3 separate regions of the Homo sapiens genome follow, and regions 1 and 3 are each linked to region 2. The links are contacts of gene promoters, found by promoter capture Hi-C in blood cells and fetal thymus (Javierre and others, 2016). All regions are on one chromosome and are shown on one strand. The core of a region is centred on a gene start or on the middle of the fragment in contact, and the rest is flanking DNA. Distances in the headings are between cores, read along the strand shown. Region 1 holds the start of TMEM184C (transmembrane protein 184C). Region 2 holds the start of PGRMC2 (progesterone receptor membrane component 2). Region 3 overlaps PRMT9 (protein arginine methyltransferase 9).

Region 1 (3,236 bases), core at 287-2,786, about 19 Mb after region 2:
AAATTTAACTAAATGAAAAATTCATATATCTCATCTGAAATGCTTTGGACCAGAAGTGTTCTGGATTTCAGATTTTTTCAGATTGGGGAACATTTGCATTATACATACCAGTTGAGCATCTCAAATCTGAAAATCCAAAATCTGAAGTGTTTCAAGGAGCATTTCCTTTGAGCATCATATAAGTACTCAAAAAGTTTTGGATTTGGGAGCATTCTGAATTTCAGATTTTCAGATTTGGCATACTCAATCTGTAATTTTGTTTTTAATTTCTCTGCTGAGCTGAAGAAATTTCACCATAGAAGAATTCCAGTTCGCAAACTGGTATGTGAAATCATTTGTGCATCTGTCTCATCTCTTCTCTCTTTTGCTTTTTTCTAATGGATTTAGATTTTTGCTTTAGGAATTCAAAATCTAAACAAGACAAATAAGTAAATGAGTATAATACCATATAAATGCTGTAAGAATACATGGGGAAACAAAAATAAAGGAAGGTCTCACAAATTAGGCAAAAAAAGTTTGCCCATGAGAAAGAATGGGAAAGATTATAGGCAGCAAAAACGCTGTAGCTGAAAGCACAGAGACAATCTACGCATACGGCATATCCAAGATAGCCTCTACTGTGTACCAAACAAGTAAAGAGTAGTTATACTTGGCCGTAGAGTAAAATTAACTTTCTCTTCATTATTCTTCTTTTTTATGAACTTTAACAACAGAGCAAGCATTAATTTAATGATCAGGAATTTTTTTTAATTAATTTTATTTATTTATTTATTTATTTATTTTTTGAGACAGAGTCTCGCTCTGTCGCCCAGGCTGGAGTGCAGTGGCTTGATCTCGGCTCACTGCAAGCTCCGCCTCCCGGGTTCACGCCATTCTCCTGCCTCAGCCTCCTGAGTACCTGGGACTACAGGCTCCCGCCACCACAACTGGCTAATTTTTTGTATTTTTGGTAGAGACGGAGTTTCACTGTGTTAGCCAGGATAGTCTCGATTTCCTGACCTCATGATCCGCCCACCTCCGCCTCCCAAACTGCTGGGATTACAGGCATGAGCCCCTGCACCCAGCCTTAATTTCCATTTTTAAAGTAAGCTTAGGAAGAACAAACATAAGGCCTATTTTTCCGGTAGAAAGTAGTTTGGGTCAGGTTGTAAAATACAAATGTTAACAACTGAGAAGTAGGCAGTGAAGTCAAGTCCAAACAGACGATACCAAAAAAGGGGCTCATAATATTCCTTAGGTGTCTCTGTGAGACTCCTGGGCTAGGTGTACTCAATGTTACAAGCCTCCTTATCCGTATGGTCATTAGGCGGAAATTCCCCAGGTGGCAGGTACTAGCAGGTCAAATGCTTAAATATAATGCCCTTTGGAGTCACAAAGACCAAGGTTGCTATCTCCACACTACCACTTAACTAGCTCAGTGAGCCTGGGCAAATTTATCAGCCACTTGACTTTTTTATCTGTAAAGTGGAAAAATGCCTACCTCTCAAAATTTTTGTGCAGAACAACTTACATAATGTAGGTAATGAACTTAGTACAGTGCCTGTCCCCCTGAAAATTACAATTACAATATAAAACGCATTTGTATATGTAATTGAGTAGTAGATATTTGTTTACTCTATTGGTTTAGCTAAAGGCTTTAAGCATATGAAACTCCTTTGTCAGATGGAATGTCAACTTTTTAAAACTTAAATGAGTGCAAATTTTTAACACAAGTTCCAAATGTAGAAGGGACATTCCCTATTTGCGGTTAATTCTAAAATGAAGCTACCTTTAGAATGATCCTTCTGTAGGATCCAGAAATAACCAAGCGGCCTAGCCCCTAGATTCTAGCAACTGACAGAAAACTAGGTGGAGGTTTCCCATTCTTCCTTGTCTTCTTACTCCAGCGGGCTTCTGTATCCACTCTAGATTGAATAGGGGATGTTTTGTGTAGAGATGGGCCTTCTCTCTTCCAGTCCAACTCTGAAGTAACCGCCCCTTACCCAAGCTTTCTTTAAACTGGAATAACGCCAGCAGAAGAATGTAGTAGGTGTGCTTCAAGTGTCCTCAAATAATTCCCGCAGCTTCCAGAATCCTTGCAATAGCCCGCTGGACCATCTGCGGCAATTCCACCCACTTCCACGCACCTGCTCTTCTTTCTAACCCCAGTACGCAATCCTGCAGCCCCGCCCCCACAGCTGACCAATCAGAGGGCGCAAAGTGAGTCGGATGGGGCGGGCCCAGTTTGGCGCTGACGACGAATCACCTGCCTCAGACAGCAGGGGCGGAAGCGGAAAAGAGCTGAAAGTCTTGGTTTGGCCTTGGGTTCCGCTGTAGGGGAGGTCCCGTGCGAAAGAATGAGGAGATCCTGGGGCCTTACCTACTAGCGGAATCGACTGAAGAGACGCCTGCCAGTGCGGGAGGTAGGAAGCTCGATCCCCAAAGAAAAGAGCGAGTGGGCAGGCAGCTGCGAGACAGAACCGGAGTGTGCAGGGTCCCTAGAGGCCGGTTCCTGGTCTGTGCTGCTCTCCTGGAAGCCATGGTACAGGCAGAGCTCAGGGCGATCCCCAGGTGAGGGCAGCGGCTCTGCCTGGGATTCCACCGCAGTACAACCGGGTAGATGCGGGGTGGAGAAGAAAGGATGTTGCCTGCACTGCTCGCCAATAGCACCCTGAGAGGCTACATTTGCAGAAGCAGCAGCAGCAGAAGACACAGCGCCGGTCCAGGAGGCGGCTCGAGCTGTTCGTAAAGTCGCCCGACAGCTTTTTCTCCGTAGTATGCGAGTTGACAAAACAGCCAGAGAACAGGGCTCCCCATTACAATCTTTTCGAGATCTTTTCCCTTGCTAACCGGATCTGATTTGTGCGAAAACATGCCTTGCACTTGTACCTGGAGGAACTGGAGACAGTGGATTCGACCTTTAGTAGCGGTCATCTACCTGGTGTCAATAGTGGTTGCGGTTCCCCTATGCGTGTGGGAATTACAGAAACTGGAGGTAAGAGGGTTCTGCACCATCAGCCTGTACACTTTCTTCTACCCATCTATGGTTGGGAAAGAGACACCCTTACCCCATTTCTGCCCTGACAGTCCTGAAAACCATCTAATGTAAACGAGCCTACTCTTAGGATATAAACCTGTCTAATTTCTTGTTCACGGTTCTTCAAGTCATGCTACAGGTGGAGGTGGGACCGGGTCGAGAAAATAGAATATATTAATATAGCTGCTTAGAAGGGCACTGTTTTGCAAGTATTCATCAG
Region 2 (3,039 bases), core at 194-2,693:
AATGTATGCTACAACCACACTGTAAAAAAAGGGCGTCTAAATCAACTACCCTACACAAAGTTCCCTGAAAACAAAGTTCTCTCAAAACAAAGTTCTAAAAATCTTTAACTTGCATAACTGGCACATGGGGGTATAAATCTACAACTCTTCTAAGTTTTTTCTCCTTAGTTCTGCTAAGTGAAAACACAAGTCATTATCAACGTGTACTTGAAAAGAGAAAAAAAAAGAAAAAAGAAACCAGAGACACGCCTGCTGGGTATAGGAGCTCCACCCCCAAAACTCAAGGTGAATATCCTTACCAGTCTTTAATAAGCTCTGCATTCTGGTCTGTTCTCATCCCACATACCTTGTTAATCATGGAAAGCAACTCCGAACTAAAACTGGTTTAAAGAGAGTCCGAGGTGTTGCTTATACGTCTGGACTTCAGAGACTGGAGGGTTGGGACTTTACATGCCCCTAAACGTGGCCTTACGGAGTAATACAGCGAGGGAAAAAAGGAGATCAGTGGCAAAAAAAAAAAAAAAGGGGGCAAGGAAAAGAAAACGGTGAATTACAGAGCCCAAAACTTTAGTTTAGGTCCCAACTTCAGAAATCTCCCTTCCCTGGTGCCCCATCCATCCCAGGAATCAGGAGACTCAAAAAAGGTTAAGGGCCAGCGTTGACCTGTGACAACTAAAACGATTTTGAAAAATCCAGCCAAAGAAACAAAAAAAAAAGGCTGCGAGGAGAAATGGGATGGAAGAAAGATGAATGCTGAGAGCTGGTCTCTGGGGCGCCACCGGGGACCCTGGTTTCGGGGGAAGAACTGGAGGTGCCCGTAGCTGCGGGGGGACGGTGTGTGTGTAGGGGCGGGATGGGCCGTCCCAGGTGCGGCGGCCGAGGCGCGGGGGTCCCGGAGACGAGAAGGCTGGGCAAACTAACCCGGTGCCCAGAGGCCTCCCTGTCCGAAGGGGGTTGTGCTTCAGCTGCAGGGGGTCCTTCCCCTCCCCTTCCAACTCCTCACCCGGGCCGTAGAACTTGCTGCCTTTGGTCACGTCGAAGACTTTCCCATTGACCGCGAGCAGGATGCGCGGGTTGCGGGAGCCGTCGTACTGGCGCAGCTGCTCCAAGCTGAAGTCCCGCTTCTTCATGCGAGGCAGAGAGGTGGCGGGGCTCTCCTCGCCCGCCCCGGCCCCGGCCCCCAGACCCCGCCGCCCCCAGCGCACCCACAGCCGGTAGGCCCCCAGCAGCACCAGAGCCACCAGCGCCACGTTCAGCAGCATTTCCCCGCCCCCCGTCAGAAGCGCCAACGCCGCCGCCGCCCAGCCTCCCCCTTCCGCTGCCGCTCCCGCGTCGCCTGGACTCTCGCTGCCGCCGTCGTTGCTGCTCTCGCTGCCACTCCCCAGGGTGCCTAGCTTCACGTCCCCATCACCAGCCGCCATCACTGCCCGCCAGCGCCTTCCTCCTCCTCCCCGCCCCCTGCCCTCCCCAACCCCACGGCCGGCCCCGCCCATCTGGGGGCCTCTCAGCCAATAACGTGAGAAGAGGGGGCGGGGTCAGGCCGGCTCCTGATTGGGTGTTGACGGGGTAACGTTGTCTCGGATCTCCCGCCCCCTCCCTTCTTTCGCTGGCCGCGCACGCGTGCAACGCCCCGCCCACCTCGCCCCACACTTCCCTGCTCTCACTCCAAGCCTCCGCTAGGTTAAGTAGACGAGCCGGGCGGGTCTGAAGAAAAGATGCTACGACGGCCGCGCGGACGCTCATGGGCGGGGCGAGACCACAGCGCGTGCGCGGGCTCCTGAGCGCCACGCGCTCGCCTTTCGTTCGTAACCCCTGCGGGAGGCACGCCCCGCCCAGTCTCCAGGCTCTGCGCGTGCGCCCTGGAATCGCTTCCCTTCCTAGGCCTGCGTTCGCGTCCGCAAACTCCCGCCTCCTTGCGCTCCCCCCGCCCGGGAGCTTCACGTGCGCCTTGGCGGCCGCGGGGGCAGGTCCGGGCTGGACGCCTGGCGGAGGACGCGGGCAGGTGGCTTGTGGGAGGCTGGGGCATAGTTGAGCTGCAAGGCGCAAACCGATGAGGGGCGTCTGCTTTTCACCAGGGCGCCGTCGCTTTTGTCGGGAAACCGGCAGCGTAGGCGCGCAGACCGGGAAGCGGCAAGAAGATTTGGCCACGAGCTGGGGTCTTCCTGGAACGGAGAGAAAGCACGGAACCCGCACCGGGCTTCTCTGGCATCGGCAGTCTACGTGCTCCTCGCGCTGGCACCGAGCAGCCACTCCCCGCTGGGTTTGGCAAAGGCTGCTCTTGTAGAATTTTAAAGGATTTAGAGTCTCATTATTCCTTGAATCATAACTTCTGCGGCCGTAGGGAAGTGGACAGGTTGAGGTGGTCTTTCTATTCGTCATTCACTCTTATTTGCAGGTTCTGTTTCATGTACTTGGACGTCTTTTAGCCTCTCACACCTTGAAATTCTAGTGTGAAAAAGTGACCTCTGAAGTCTCACGCACTCAACTCGTTTGACGAACTCGTTTGACGTGTTCTCTCTTGCCCTTTGTTGTCTGTTGTCTTGAGTCTCATAGAATAGGTTTGAACCTTTCACTGTCGGTTTTGTAGGAGTCACTGAGGATATTGACGAGGCAAGTGACAGGGTCGACACTCTTGTAGAGAGGCTGTATAGCAACCAGGTGTCTGAAGGATTAGAGGCTGGGGAAAGAGTGGGAAAGCAGTTAGTAGGCTAGGGTATTTGTGCGTGAGGTGAGGAGACTCAGAGCTAGGGGAGACATTAGAGCAGGGGTTGGCAAACATTTTTTGTAAAGGGCCCGATCATATTTTAAGTCTCTGCCTTAACTACTCAGCTCTACCTTGTAACGAGAAAGCAGCCATAGACAATACTTGAATGAGTGTAGCTGTCTTCAGTAAAACTATGGACATTGAATTTTTAATATAATTTCAGGTATGAAATATTCTTTTGATTTTTAAGAAAATCATTGAAATATGTAAATTTTTTTTTTTTTAGTTCTGGAGAGGTGCAAAAACAACTTATAAGCCATATTGCTGAGCCCTGC
Region 3 (3,231 bases), core at 644-3,143, about 19 Mb after region 2:
TCAAACTTGGCAGAACCATGCTGAGTCCCCATCACTCTGAAACGTTCAAACTCAGAAGCAATGTTAACCATTCATTTTATTTCCTGTACTTTCACAGAATTCTTCACGCACATGTACTAGTATGCAGAGTTAACATAGCAGGCCTGACTGCCATCCTTTGAAAGGCCTGATTACAAAACTGTCCCTTGGCTGGCATCTGGGAATTTGGATTTGGGGAGGGTTCTCACTATCCTAACTGATAGTATTCCTAAACTGATTATACAAACAATGTGGTTTATGCTCAACAGCTGACCTGCTTTTCTTCTGGGAATCTAGGATTTTAGTATATGCCAGGCAGAGGGTACCCAAGTGTCCAGCTCCCAGTAGAAACCCTGGGCACTGAGCCTCTAATGAGTTTCCCTGGTTGGCAACATTTCACGTGTACTGTCATAACTCACCGTGGGAATGAAGTGCATCCTGCGTGACTTCACTGAAAAAGGAACTTTGGAGGCTTGCACCTGGTTTTCCTTTACACTTTGCCCCATACACATTTACCCTTTGCAAATTTTGCTTTGTATCCATTCACAGTAATACACAAGAGCCATGACTAGGACTACATGGTGAGGCCTGTGAGCCCTTCCAGCAAATCAGCAAATCTGGGAGTGGTTCCAAGACTCCCAACATGTAAGTTATCAACTTATTGCCAAATTCACCCTTTTTTGCCTGCTCTGTGAAAACTGTATCTGGCCCTTTAATATTCTCCCACCAGTTGGCACAAGGGTAAGCTTTGTTGGTAAAAAGTGCGGAGAGGCCGCGTGCAGTGGCTCAAGTCTGTAATCCCAGTGCTTTGGGAGGCCAAGGCCAGAGGATCGCTTGAGCCCAGGAGTTCCAGACCAGCTTGGGCAACAACATGGCAAAATCCTGTCTCTACAAACAAGACAAAAAATTAGCCAGGTGTGGTGGCATGTACTGCAATTCCAGCTACTGGAGTGCAGGTGGGGGCGCTGCTGAGGTGAGATCACCAGAGCCTGGGAGGTCAAGGTTGCCATGAGCCATGATGGTGCTACTGCACTCCAACCTGAGCGACACAGTGACACACTGTCTCAAAAAAAAAAAAGTGCTGGAGGCCAGGCGCAGTGGCTCACACCTGTAATCCCAGCAGTTTGGGAGGCTGAGGCGGGTGGATCGCTTGAGGTCAGGAGTTCGAGACCAGCCTGGCCAACATGGTGAAACCCTGTCTCTACTAAAAATACAAAAATTACCTGGGTGGGGTGGCAGGCGCCTGTAATGCCAGCTTCTCAGGAGGCTGAGGAACGAGAATCACTTGAACCCAGAAGGTGGAGAGGTTGCAGTGAGCTGAGATCACGCCACTTCACTCCAGCCTGGGCTACAAAGTGAGACTCTGCCCCCAAAAAAAACAGTGCTGGAGAGACACTGTAGCAAGAAAGAGTTTTGCTTCCTGCACAGGGCTTGTCTAGCACCAAGCTCCTGAAATGCATGGCAGCTAGCAGCATCCAAGGGTCAGCAGCTTCCCCAAGGCTTCTTACCCTACTACATGGTTTTGTAATGGAGTACCTCTGATAAGATACTTCCCCATGAGGCTTTCTCTGGCATCCCAAGAGGCAAAACTATACCCAGGTCCAGAAAACAAATTTACAAGAAGTTCCCTGGCAAGGCACTACAGTGACTTTTCTGCCATCCTAAGAATCACAGCTGTGCCCTCTCCAATAAGGGGTGGCACTCAGCCCAGTGAGGGGAACTCTTCCTTGGATATTCTGTCTTACTCCTAAGGGCAGTGGCTATTATGCCGTATATTACAAAATATTAAAACTGCTATGATTATTATATATCTGCTATTCTTTTCAATTCTCCTTAATAATTCTCCATATTAAACTTTCCCTGTTAAAATTACAGTATGATTTATCCCTATCCAGACTAATACAGAATAATTCTTAACAAGTAATACTAAAATCACTACAAACCTGAAGAGATGCTCCCCCATACTATTGCAAATCACTTCATCATCAGGAAACAGTTCCAAGGCCTGCTCATAGCAACCAAGTAAGTCTTGTATCCGACTGAGAGCATCAAGCTCTTCAGCCCATCTGAAAAGTGTGTACTGAAAAGTTTCCTTTACAAATAAGAAAAAAATTATGAATTAGTCAATAACATAAAAGATGAAAGAATATACATCATTAGTTGAAGATTCCAAGCAATCGAACTTAATCACTATTGAACAATCACCTTAAACTTCATTTAACTTTAGTAGGCACTGTTTTCTGAACAAGTGCACAAATGAATGAATTTTACCACCTACATGGCAATAATAAGCAGAATTAGTCTGACCACTCTCTAAACTCCCCCCACTCTTAGCTGCTGTATCACATTCTCCTTATTCTCCAGAACTGCCTCACTTTTGTCGGCTCCTGTGTTTTTGGAGTTTGTCCTTGGCCCTCTTCTTTTTTCACTCATCCATCCCTAACGCATTTATTATCACCCATGTGTTAATGGATGCTACATTTACATCTCTAGTCAAGACCTTCTCTTCTGAACCTCAGACTCATAGATACAGCTTCCTATTAGTCATTTCAACCCGGCAATGGATCTCCAGCCATTGCAAATGTAGTCCAACTCAAATATTTCCTGAACAATCCTTGTGCAAAGAACTGAAGCAACATAAATCTTGTTCTTATCCTCACAGAGGCCCTATAGAGAGAAATTTAATTTTGGAAAAGTTCAAAATGTTCTACACTGAACTCATCATACTCCTCTGACACAGGCTATAAGATTAAGACACCACTCAACCTCAAACCACAAAGTCACCTTATAATGGTACCTTAACTCCACATACACTGTTTCAAACCTAGCCAATGCTCTCTCAATATCTTTAAATCTGTTACCTCCTCTCCATTCCCACAGTTACAACCTAATCTGGCCCTTGTAACCACTTGCTGGACTACAGCAACAGCCTTAACGCTGTCACTCTAATTCCAACTGCATCTCCCTCCATCCATTCTCCATGCTGCAATACTGTGGAAAGAGGGAAAGCTTTAGTCATTAAAACATTTTAAATCATCTTCACATATTTTATACAAAAGCGTTGATATTTGGAACTGAATCTTGAGGGAGTTTACTAGAGAGACAAGGATAAGAAAGGAGATTCTGGCCGGGCACGGTGGCTCATGCCTGTAATCCCAGCCCTTTGGGAGGCCAAGGCAGGCAGATCACCTGAGGTCAGGAGTTGAAGACCAG

The links. The method cuts DNA at HindIII sites, captures the fragments that hold promoters and counts their contacts. A CHiCAGO score of 5 or more calls a contact.
Region 1: a fragment that was not itself captured here is called in contact with the fragment with the promoter of PGRMC2 in region 2 in 2 of 17 cell types (naive B cells and total B cells); the score reaches 6.2 in naive B cells.
Region 3: a fragment that was not itself captured here is called in contact with the fragment with the promoter of PGRMC2 in region 2 in 1 of 17 cell types (total CD4 T cells); the score reaches 5.3 in total CD4 T cells.

The regions. Positions count from the first base shown.
Region 1 is chr4:147,615,106-147,618,341 of GRCh38, forward strand. It overlaps TMEM184C (transmembrane protein 184C), which reads left to right and starts at 2,292. Exons shown (of 10, transcript NM_018241.3): 1 at 2,292-2,974. The coding sequence starts at 2,852. It overlaps TMEM184C-DT (TMEM184C divergent transcript), which reads right to left and starts at 2,140. Exons shown (of 2, transcript NR_186679.1): 1 at 1,983-2,140. RefSeq lists enhancers at 2,512-2,631, 2,662-2,711. The HindIII fragment of the contact is 898 bases long and covers 1,088-1,985 here.
Region 2 is chr4:128,286,370-128,289,408 of GRCh38, forward strand. It overlaps PGRMC2 (progesterone receptor membrane component 2), which reads right to left and starts at 1,444. Exons shown (of 3, transcript NM_006320.6): 1 at 1,004-1,444. The coding sequence starts at 1,421. RefSeq lists silencers at 1,084-1,143, 1,324-1,373, 1,384-1,563, 1,884-2,073, 2,445-2,739. The HindIII fragment of the contact is 4,970 bases long and covers 1-3,039 here.
Region 3 is chr4:147,678,362-147,681,592 of GRCh38, forward strand. PRMT9 (protein arginine methyltransferase 9) reads right to left here. Exons shown (of 12, transcript NM_138364.4): 2 at 1,962-2,110. Among named protein-coding and RNA genes, the nearest start is that of PRMT9, 4.2 kb to the right of the region's middle. The HindIII fragment of the contact is 2,263 bases long and covers 763-3,025 here.